2 separate regions of the Homo sapiens genome follow, and region 1 is linked to region 2. Evidence: promoter capture Hi-C in 16 types of primary human blood cells and fetal thymus (Javierre and others, 2016). All regions are on one chromosome and are shown on one strand. Each heading gives the region's core, a stretch centred on a gene start or on the middle of the fragment in contact. The rest is flanking DNA. Distances are from core to core; before and after follow the strand shown.

Region 1 (5,562 bases), core at 502-3,001, 610 kb before region 2:
AATTACCTTCCACTGGGTCCCTCCCTTGACCTGTGGGGATTACAATTCAAGATGAGACTTGGGCGGGGACACAAAACCAAACCATATCACTCATCCACCTTGCACCAGACACCAAGGATCCAGGCTAAGTCCCTGACCTCTTGGAGCTTACATCCTAGTGGGGATGTATTAGTCAGGATAGGTTAAGTTATGCTATGTAACAAAGGATTCTAAAATCTTAGTGGCTTAATAAAATTTTTTTTCATGCGACATGTCCAAATTTGGCTGGGGAGAGCTATACTCCACAAAGTCCCTTCAGATACTGTGGCTAACAGAGGTGGTACCATCTGCAACATCATTAGTTGCTATGGCAGGATAAGGGAGTATAGCAAATCATGAACTGGCAATTGAATGCTTTGGTCAGTGATATGGTTTGGCTGTGTCCCCACCCAAACCTCATCTCATATTGTAGCTCTCATAATCCCCACGTGTCATGGGAAGGACCCGATGGGAGGTAATTGAATCATGAGAGCAGGTTTTTCCCATGCTATTCTCATGATAGTGAATAAGTCTCACAAGATCTGATGGTTTTTTTCTTTCTTTCTTTCTTTCTTTTTTTTTTTTTTTTTTTTTTGAGGGAGAGTCTCACTCTGCTGCTGCCCAGGCTGAAGTGCAGTGGCACGATCTCAGCTGACAGCAACCTCTGCCTCCCTGGTTCAAGCGATTCTTGTGCCTCAGCCTCCTGAGTAGCTGGAATTACAGATGTGCACCACCATGCCCAGCTAATTTTCATATTTTTAGTAGAGAGGGGGTTTCACCATGTTGGCCAGGCTGGTCTTGAGCTCCTGACCTCAAATGATCCACCTGCCTCGGCCTCCCAAAGTGCTGGGATTACAGGCATGAGCCACCATGCCTGGTGAGATCTGATGGTTTTATAAAGGGCAGTTCCCCTACACACAGTTGCTTGCCTGCCGCCATGTAAGACACGCCTTTGCTCCTCCTTTGCCTTCTGCCATGATTATGAGGCCTCCCCAGCCATGTGCAGCTCTGAGTCCATTAAACATCTTTTTCTTTAGAAATTACCCAGTCTCAGATATTTCTTCATAGTAGCAAGCAAATAGACTAATACACAGATGGTAAACAAATAAATGACTAATAAAACATCAGGTCATGGTAAATGCTTTGAAGAAAAAAAGAAGGCGCAAAGAGAGATTGGGGATGGAGACTATTAGGGGATGAATTATGACCCCACAAGTTCATATGTTGAAACACTGACCCCCAATACCTCAGAATATGACTGTATTGGGAAACAGGGCTTTTAAAGAGGTAATTAAGTTAAAATAGGGTTGTTAGAGTGGGTTCTAATCCAATATGACTAGTGCCCTTAAAAGATGAGGGAATTAGAACCCAGGCAGAGGGATGACCATGTGAGGACATAGTGAAAAGGGAACCATCTGCACACCAAGAAGAAAGGCCTCAGAATGAAACCAAACCTGCCAACACCTTGATTTTGGACTTCTAGCTTACAGAATTGCGAAGAAATAAATTTCTGTTGTTTAAACCACCCAGTCTCTGGTGTTTGTTATGGCAGCCCTAGCCAACTAATATAGAGACTATTTTATTTTTATTTATTCATTTGTTTTGAGACAGGGTCTCATTCTGTCACCCAGGCTGGAGTGCAGTGGTGTAATCATAGCTCACTGCAGCCTGAAACTCCTGGGTTCAAGTGATTCTCCTGTCTCAGCCTCCTAAGTAGCTAGGACTACAGGGACGTGCCACCATGCCTAGCTAATTTTTAAAATTTTTGGTAGAGATGGTAGACTGGATAAAGAAAATGTATACACCATGTAGAGGCTTGTCTTAAACTTACAGCCTCAAACTATCCTCCTGTCTCAGCCTCCCAAAGTACTGGGATTACAGGTGTGGGACACCATGCCCAGCCTGTGGGGAGAGAGGTAGGTGAGAAGAGAAGGCTTCTCTGAAGAAGTGACATTTGAGCAGACCTATATAAGATGGTTATGAAGATTCACACAGCGGCTCATGCCTGTGATCCCAGCACTTTGGGAGGCTGAGGCAAGTGGAGCACCTGAGATCATGAGTTCAAGACCAGCCTGGCCAACATGGTGAAACCCCATCTCTACTAAAGATACAAAAATTATCCAGGTGTGGTGGTGCACGCCTATAATCCCAGCTACTCAGAAGGCTGAGACAGGAGAATTGCTTCAACCTGGGAGGTGGAGGTTGTAGTGAGCTGAGATTGTGCCACTGCATTCTAGCCTGGGTGACAGAGTGAGACTCTGTCTCAAAAAAAAAAAAAAAAAAAAAAAAAAATCCAGAGAAAGCAAGGTCTGAACTAAGCACACCGCACATGCAAAGGTCTTGAGGTGGGAACAGGTTTGCTATGTGAATACCCATCAGCCAAAGACAATCAGGCATGCACCTATGAACAAAGTTAGGTTTTTTGACTTGCTGCAGTGAGGGCAGATGTACACCATGGGGAATGGTGTGGTGTCTCAGGAAGGTGTCAGAGAAGACTAACAGAATTTGGGCTGTGTTGTATGATTGTGGGAAGGATTCAAAGAAGTGGGGATTTGCTTTGGGTTGGGTGCTATCAAAAAGTGTAACCAATTCTTTTTTTTCAAACTTTTGATTTTAAGTTCAGGGGTATGTGTGCAGGTTTCTTATAGAGGTAAATTTATATCATGGGGGTTTGTTGTACATATAATTTCATCACCCAGGTATTAAGCCTAGTACCCCTTAGCTATTTTTCCTGATCCTCTCCCTCCTCCCACACTCTACCCTCTGATAGGCTCCAGTGTGTGTTGTTCCCCTTTATGTATTTGTGTTCTCATCATTTAGATTCCACTTATAAGGGAGAACATGCGGTATTTAGTTTTCTCTTTCTGCATTAGTTTGCTAAGGATAATGACCTTCAGCTCCATTCTTGTTCCTGCAAAGGGCATGATTTCATTCTTTTTTATGGCTGCATAGTATTCCATAGTGTATATGTACCACATTTTTTTAATCCAGTCTACCATTGATGGACATTTAGGTTGATCCTATGTCTTTGCTATTGTGAATAGTGCTGCAATGAATATAAGTGTGCATGTGTCTTTATGATAGAACAATTTATATTTCTTTGGGTGTATACCCAGTAATGGGCTTGTTAGGTTGAATGGTAGTTCTGTTTTTAGGTCTTTGAGGAATTGCCACACTGTCTTACATGCTAATTAACACTCCCACCAACAGTGTGTAAGCATTCCTTTTTCTCTGCAACCTCGCCAGCATGTTGTTTTTTGACTTTTTAATAATAGCCATTCTGACTGATGTGAGATGGTATCTCATGGTGGTTTTGATTTGCGTTTCACTAATGATTAGTGATGTTGAGCTTTTTTATATGATTCTTGGCCAGATGTATATTTTCTTTTGAAAAGTGTTTGGTCATGTCCTTTGCCCACCACGAGTGTAACCAATTCTATCTTTTCTAGAAGGTGAGAAGAACGGAGCAAAGCTAAAACTGAAATTGGTAAAGAAACAGCAGCCATTCAGATCAGCTGAGAGAAGGGGATGCTTGATATTTTGTGGTTTGGACAGTGTTCCTGTTTTGTCTCTGTGCAGGCATAATTACAGAGCAGTCTTGTTTCTATCTAGATGCATCAGAGTCACAGACAGGCCTTTGTTGTTGTTGTTCTGTGAACATTGTTCACCTTCAACAGGAGAACATCATGACCTAACAGTGCATTCTAGACAAGCTGCTAGCAACACCAAGACCCAGTTGTTACTGTTAGGCCAGCTCCCAGCTGTTAGAGGCTGCTTTCTCTTTCTTACATAGATGAGGAACTTCAGTGAAGTCTCTTCCAGCAATGAAAGACTGATCAAATGGCTTTCACTCTGTGACCCTCCGTTTCCTTATTTTCAAAGGATTTTAATTGTACTGGCCACATAGTGCTCTTGTGTGGATTTGATGAGATGTTATCTATAAAGTATCAGCCAGTATTATTATCTAGGGGTTAGCAATATGGACTCATCCTCCAAATATCAGAGTTCTGTGTTGGGACTCTGGATTACTACTTCTGATCATGGTTGTGCAGACACAGGGGGTGGGCCATGATTGGCTTAATCCCCACCAGCTGAACTGGCTTCCAGAAGGTATAAAGGGATAGCCACTGGATTTTCTCCCCTTTTGTTCCCTTTGGAAGGTGGACATTTAGGGATTAGGATATTCAAAAGCAACTGTGCATACAAGGGAATTTAGAAAGTCACTGCACAAGCTCAGGGAAAGATGCAAATTCAGAAAAGACCTAAGATGATCATAAGCTTTCATTTTAGGTTGATTCTAGCACAGATACATCTTATAACAATAAACAAACAAAAAAACCAGCAAACCCTGGGGAATGGGGAAAAGCTGATTTCCAGAGTTAGCACATTGTAAGATTCAAATGTCCATTTTCAACAAAAAAGTCACAAGACATACATACAAAGAAACAAGAGAGTATGGCCCATTCAAAGAAAAAATAAATAAACAATACCTGAGGAAGCCCAGGTGGTAGACTTACTAGACAAAGACATAAATAACTGTCTCAAAGATGCTCAAACAGCTAAAGGAGACATAGACGAAGACAGAAAAATGATGTATGAACAAAAGAAGAATATCAGCAAAAAGACAGAAAATGCAAAAAGGAACCAAAAGGAAAATTCTGGAGCTAAAAATACAATTAACTGAAATAAAAAATTCACTGAAGGGGCTCAAAAACAGATTTGAGCAGGCAGAAGAAAAATCAGCAAACTTGGTGACAGGAAAATTTATTGAGTCTGAGGGACAGGAAGAAAAAAGATTAAAGAAAGCTGAACAGAGCCTAAAGGATCTGTGGGACACCACAGAGGAGACCAACATACATATTATGGGAGGTCCAGAAGGAGAAGAGAGAGAAAAAGAGGAAGAAAGAATTGTAATTTTAAGAAATAAGATTGAAAACTTCCCAAATTTGATGATAGACATGAATCAACAAATCTAAAAACTCAATAAACTCCAAGTATGAAAAACCCAGAGATTCAAGCTGAGACACATTATAATCAAACTGTAAAAAGCCAAAGCCAAAGAAACAATCTTGAAAGCAGCAAGAGAGAAGCAACTTGTTACATTCAAGAAATCCTCAATAAGATTATTGGCAGATTTATCATTAGAAACCTTGGATGCCAAAGGCAGTGGGTTAATACACTTGACATGCCAAAAGAAGAAGAAGAAAAAAAAGACCTATCAACCAAGAATTCTATAGCTACCCAATCTATCCTCCAACAATGAGGAAGAAGTTCAGATATTCCTGGATAAACAAAAGCTGAGGGAGTTCATTACCACTAGTCCTTCCCTACTAGAAATGCTAAACGAAGTCCTTCAGGTTGAAATGAAAGAGTGCAGACAGTAATTTGAAGACATGAAGAAAAAAATTAAAATCTCTGCTAAAGGTAAATACATGAGCAATTATAAAAGCTACTGTTATCATAATTTGAGTTTATAATTTCACTTTTTATTGTCTACATGATATAAAATAAAATGGATGAAAACAATTATTAATCTTCATTATT
Region 2 (6,039 bases), core at 1-2,500:
ACCCATACCCAGGATGGAGAGGATCACTCTGGGAGACACGAGCTCGGGCCCCATCTCAGAGCGGCCGACCTGGCACTCATACTCCGCGTCATCGCTGAGGTCACAGGCCTCGATGTGCAGGTGGAATTCACCTGCAGGGGGAGCCGGAAGTCAGGGCCGCAGCTTCCGCTGGTGGCTGAGGGTCTCAGGCTCTGATCCCTTACCTCTAGCAGGGTCCCCTTCCAGGCGGTACCTCGGGAAGCCTGGGATCCTGGGGTCGGGGCCCAGGAGCAGCCCATCTTTGGCCCATTGCACCGCACTGCCAGGGGTGCTGACCCCACAACGCAGCTCCACTGAGGCCCCCTCCACCACCGTCAGGTTTTCAGGCAGGGCCCAGAAGCCCCGGGGAACGGAGGCAGGAATCGCCAACTGCGCCAGGCCTGAGGACACAGCGCGGTGCAAGGAAAGGGCAGAGGGTTTGTCTAGGGAAGGTAAGTGGGAAATGGGGGCCACTTGGCGCTGGGTACAAGGCTGGGATCCCACTCACCTTCAGTCAGCAGCCCCAGGAGCAGGAGAGAAGCCCTGAGCGTCGTCCCCAGGGCCATCACAGGTCCCCCTACTGTGACCCCCACAGCGCCCGCTGCCAGCCACCTGCGTCTGTCTGGCTTTCTCTGGGTCCCTCTCTGTGTGTCTCTGCCACCTGCTTTTCTTTTTTATCTCTTTCCGTTACTCTCCTCCCTTTCTCGTTTTCCTCTTCCCCTCTTCCCTGTGAGTATCTCTCTCTGTCTTGCTCTCAGTCTCAATCTCTGAGTCTCTTTCTCTGTCTCTTTAAAAAAACTTTTTTTTCTTTTTTCTTTTTTTTTTCTTTTTTTTTTTTTTAGAGACGGGGTCTCACTATGTTGGCCAGGTTGATCTCAGACTCTTTCCTTCAAGCCATCCTCCCACCTTGGCCTCCCCAAGTGTTGGGATTACAGGCGTGAGCCACTGCGCCCAGTCTCTTTATCTTTCCATCTTTCTCTCCTTGTCTAAGCCGTTCTCTCTCCTTTTGTCTCTGTCTCTTCCTCTCTCTCTGTCTCTCTCTCTCTCTCTCTCTCAATCTCTATCTTCTCTCCTGCCACCCCTCACTCCTGCTCCTTGTCTCACTACTCACAGCCTTTCAAGAAGGACCTGCAGCCCAGAGTCCAGCAGGCCAGGAGCCTAGGAGAGCGATGAGGCTGATGCAGGCACTGGCAGAGTCAGCCCTGCTCTCTGACCCAGCTTGAGCTCATTCTCACAGTGCAACCTCCCCCAGGTACCTTCCAGAGCCCCCAGCTCTGGCCTCTGCCCAGCAGGCTCCTCCCAGCTGGCCCAGCTGGAGCATAAAATCCCCTGTCAGCACATGCCAGGCGCGTTCCTCGGTGCCTCCCCAGCCTCCGTGACCCCAGGGCCTGGCTTAGGCTGGGAAGATGGGAGAAGTCAGATCAAGGTGGTCTCCCAGCTCAGCAGGGGAGCAGCCAGCTGGGCCCCCAGCTCTTCCTTGCCCTGATACATGACCTTGGCAAGTCTCTTTCTTTCTTTCTTTCTTTTCTTGAGATAGTCTTGCTCTGTTGCTCAGGCTGGAGTGCAGTGGCATCTCGGCTCACTGCAACTTCCACCTCCCATGGCTTGAACCTCCCAGGTTCAAGTAATTCTCCCACCTCTGTCTCCCAAGTAGCTGGTGCTACAGGTATATAGCACCATGCCTGGCTAATTTTTGTATTTTTACTAGAGACGGGGTTTCATCATGTTGGCCACGCTGGTCTCGAACTCCTGACCTCAGGTGATCCATCTGCCTCAGCCTCCCAAAATGCTGGGATTACAGACATGAGCCACCGCACCTGGCCTCCCTTCCTTTTTTAGTAGACATCAGTGCCTAAATGATGTCAGGGATCTCTGCTGGGGAGGATGCAAGAGTGAGTGTGACAGGCTGGGAGAGTGTGGGAGAGAGGGAAGATATGCATGTGTGTACGTGGGTGTGAGAGTGGGGAAGGTTAGAGTGAACTGCGATCTGTAATAAGCATGTGGAGAGCGTGTGTGTGACAGTGTCTTACGTGGGAGTGCACAGGGTGTGGGCGGGAGTAAAAGGCAGAGTCCAATTCCACCGGCCCCCAGTGTGGGTGCAGTGTGAGCCCAAAGTGGGCGCCCTTTGGCAAGGACTGCATGAGCTTTCTTCTCCCTCTTTTTCTTGCCCTCTCTCCCATCTCTTCTTTCCTTCTCCATGTCTCTCTCTCTCCCTCCCTCTATCTATCTTGATTTATCTTTCTTTCTTTTGAGATGGAATCTTGCTCTGTTGCCCAGGCTGGAGGGCAGTGGCATGATCTTGGTTCATTGCAGCCTCAACTTCCTGGGCTCAGGTGATCCTCCTGCCTCAGCCTCCTGAATAGCTGGGACTACAGGTGCACACCACCACTCCAGCTAATTTTTTAAAATTTGTTTGTAGAGACAGGGTCTTTCTCTATTGCCCAGGCTGGAGTGCAGTGGTGTGATCATGGCTCATTGAAGCCTCAAACCTCCTAGGCTCAAGTGTTCTTTCTGCCTCAGCCTCCTGAGTAGCTGGGACTACAGGCCCGCATCACCACTCTGGCTATTTTTTTTTTTTTTTTTTTTTTTTTGAGAGGGAGTCTTGCTCTGTCACCCAGGCTGGAGTGCAATGGTGCGATGTTGGCTCACTGTAACCTCCGCCTCCCAGGTCCAAGCGATTCTCCTGCCTCAGCCTCCTGAGTAGCTGGGAATACAGGCATTGACCACCACACCCAGCTAATTTTTGTATTTTTAGTAGAGACGGGGTTTCGCCATGTTGGCCAGGCAGGTCTCGAACTCCTGACCTCAGGTAACCCACCTGCCTTGGCCCCCCAAAGTGCTGGGATTACAGGTGGGAGCCGCTGCACCCCGCCACTTGGCTAATTTTTTTTAAATGTTTTTGCAGAGACAGAGTCTTGCTATATTGCCCAGGCTTGTCTGGAACTCCTGGGCTCAAGCAATCCTCCCATCTCGGCCTCCCAAAGTACTAGGATTACAGGCATGAGCCACCGCACCTGGCCCTTGATTTATCTTTCTTTTTTTTCTTTTTTCTCTTTTTTCTTTTTTTGAGATGGAGTTTCACTCTTGTTGCCCAGACTGGAGTGTAATAGTGTGATCTCGGCTCACTGCAACCTCTGCCTCCCGGGTTCAGGCGATTCTCCTGCCTCAGCCTCCCTAGTAGCTGGGATTACAGGCATGCGCCACCACGCCTGGCTAATTTTTTGTATTTTTAGTAAAGACGGGGTTTCTCCATGTTGATCAGGCTGGTCTCGAACTCCTGACCTCAGGTGATCAGCCTGACTCGGCCTCCCAAAGTGCTGGGATTGCAGGCGTGAGTCATTGTGCCCAGCTGATTTATCTTTCTATCTTTCTCCATCTGTTTGAGACTCTCTCGCTCTCTATATTAAGTTGTTAAATCTCAGTCAATCTTTATTTCACTGTGTCTCTCCATCTCTATATGTCTCTGTTATTCTGTTTCTCTGTCTCTGTTCTCACCTCTGTCGCTCCCCTCACCCCACAGTCTGTCTCACACACACCAGGAGCTCCATAAATATTTGTTCTCAGCCACACTCTGACCACGCCTCTTTCTCTTATGTGTCTCTCCATCTCCGAGTGGCTCTGCTCATCACATCCCTGGATTTTATAACCATATGCTGGTGGGCCTGCCCTCCCCGCGTGCACATACACTTGCCTGGGATAAGCTTCTTCTGCCTGCTTATCTCCTGCGGGAATTGGAAATGCTAGTTTTCTCCCTACCTCCCCAAGACCCCCGCCAATATCGTTCCCAGGAACAAGATGAGGCATCTGGCCTCAGCCCCCAGCTTCATCCTCGATGCTGGACTTCCATCTTCCCTCACATGCTTGACTCCTTGCCCTCCTCCCACCTCCCCTCTCCCAACTGCTCTCTACACCCCCTGGGAAATGGGCTGGATGCCGAGCTGGGGGAGTGGCTCTGTCCTGGGGGCCCTCGCCAGATGGTGTCCCTAGGTGCCAGAGCGTGGAGCTGTCCCTTGCTGGGGCCTTTAATAAGCACAAACCTTCCACCCTCCACCTTGGCTGTTTTCCTTCTCTGCATGCTCCTGGGACCTTGGGCTCTCCATCTTTCCATGTCCGTAGCCCCAGAGAGCCAGGAAGGGGAAGCGGCGTCAAGTGCCTGGAAAAACAGCCCCATGACTTGAGTTCCTCCCTAAGACTCAGGAGTTCCAGCCCCATGTCCATCCTATTTCAAAATCCAGGCACTAGATAAGCCACACAGAAGCCGGGAGTGTAGGCCCCCAGATCCCTCCCCTCTCAGACCCTGGGGTCTCAGTCCCTTCTCTCCAAGGACTCGGGAATTTGGGCCTCTGATCCTCCTGGCCACACTACCCACCCCCGCACCTCCCCATACACACACACACACACACACACACACACACACACACACACACACACACACATACACACAGGACTTAGGACAGATGTTCACGGTCTGATTTCCAAATCCTCCTGGGCCTGTGTGGGGGTGGGGAGAGATTGGCAGATAGATCCACCGACTCTTAAGACTTAAGACCAGATATTCTGACCCCTGTCACCCTCTTCCAAGTGCACCATGCACTTGAGTGCACCTTGAGTCTCCAGCCTCTCAAGGAACCGGGAGATCAGGCCATCAGCGTCTCAGCCAGCAAAGGCCTGAACCACCAGTCCCTTATAACCCTGTAAGTCCAACCCCCACTCCCAACCCCACTCCCCCATTTAGGGACACGGAGTCTGAGCCTAAGAACAGTGGAGAATCTGAATGTGGACCCTCCAGTTCTTACAGGTCCAGGAATGTCAGATCAGGGTCCCAGCCCCCCAGCCCTCCTTCAGGCTGCTCGGGGTCCCTCCCACCTGCTCGGCCAGCTGCGCAGCGTGGGAACGCCCCAGCTGGGCTGCATGGAGCCGTCAGGACAAGCTGCGCGGTTCCCAGCCTCCCTGCCTGCCCCGGCCCGGCACCGCCGCCTCCCAGCCGTCGCCGGGCAACCAGGCCGAGGGGCCCGGCCGGCCGAGTGGGGAGAGGGGTTGGGCTGGGACTGCGGGGTCCTGGGAAAGGAGGGGCCGAGGGCCTGGATTCCTGGGTCTTAGGACGTGCTGTAGTTTGCAGCAATAACAAGGGAACAGAGGGATATTTTGAGGAGGGGTTTTGAGGCTGGGGGAGTCGAGGTAGGGGTCCCAACTGTCCCCCAGGTATCGGTGTGCCCTCTTCCCGACACGCAGGCCCGGGGGAGCCCCGGACCCCGCATCCCCCAGGGCGCGGAAACTGGCGAGGCCCCAGGAGCTCCCATTTATAGCTCAGTTTCCACTGAGCGCAGTCCCTCTAGGACCTGGGCTGAGCAAGTTTCTTCCACTCTCTCCCTTCCCTCCTCCTCACCCCTTGCCTGCCCCTCAACCCCGGCAGGGCGCAGGTGTCCAACCCAGCCGGGACCCCCTCCCTCCTCGAACCCAGGTGTTCCGGCTCCCAGACCCCAATTGAGCTGGGGGCGCCCACCCGCCGGGGGATCCCGCCCTGCGTCCCCCATTCATCCGCGTCTCAGCCGCGGGAGTTTCTCAACGGGAAGAGGGCGGAGCTCCCGGGGGGCGGACCCGGGCGGGGCGAGCGGGATCGGGCCCTCTTGGGGTCTCCCAGAGACCCAGGCCGCGGAACTGGCAGGCGTTTCAGAGCGTCAGAGGCTGCGGATGAGCAGACTTGGAGGACTCCAGGCCAGAGACTAGGCTGGGCGAAGAGTCGAGCGTGAAGGGGGCTCCGGGCCAGGGTGACAGGAGGCGTGCTTGAGAGGAAGAAGTTGACGGGAAGGCCAGTGCGACGGCAAATCTCGTGAACCTTGGGGGACGAATGCTCAGGATGCGGGTCCCCGCCCTCCTCGTCCTCCTCTTCTGCTTCAGAGGGAGAGCAGGTACCGCACGAGGGGAGCGGAGGAATATGGGGTGGGGGTGGGGAGTTGCTTGCGGGCTGCCTCTTCACTAGCGAGAAGGGAGCTGGGGGCTGGGACTCCTGGGTCCTGAATG

What was found. Contacts are between HindIII fragments. The CHiCAGO score rates a contact against its expected background, and 5 or more counts as called.
Region 1: a contact is called between a fragment that was not itself captured here and the fragment with the promoter of NPHS1 in region 2, in 1 of 17 cell types (neutrophils). The highest score is 6.4, in neutrophils.

What each region holds. Positions count from the first base shown.
Region 1 is chr19:35,236,833-35,242,394 of GRCh38, forward strand. No RefSeq gene overlaps it. Among named protein-coding and RNA genes, the nearest start is that of LSR, 9.4 kb to the right of the region's middle. The HindIII fragment of the contact is 5,085 bases long and covers 1-4,294 here.
Region 2 is chr19:35,851,254-35,857,292 of GRCh38, forward strand. It overlaps NPHS1 (NPHS1 adhesion molecule, nephrin), which reads right to left and starts at 1,251. Exons shown (of 29, transcript NM_004646.4): 1 at 527-1,251; 2 at 204-419; 3 at 9-131. The coding sequence starts at 584. KIRREL2 (kirre like nephrin family adhesion molecule 2) reads left to right here and starts at 5,658. Exons shown (of 15, transcript NM_199180.4): 1 at 5,658-5,927. The coding sequence starts at 5,867. RefSeq lists enhancers at 1-537, 538-1,179. The HindIII fragment of the contact is 3,857 bases long and covers 1-3,717 here.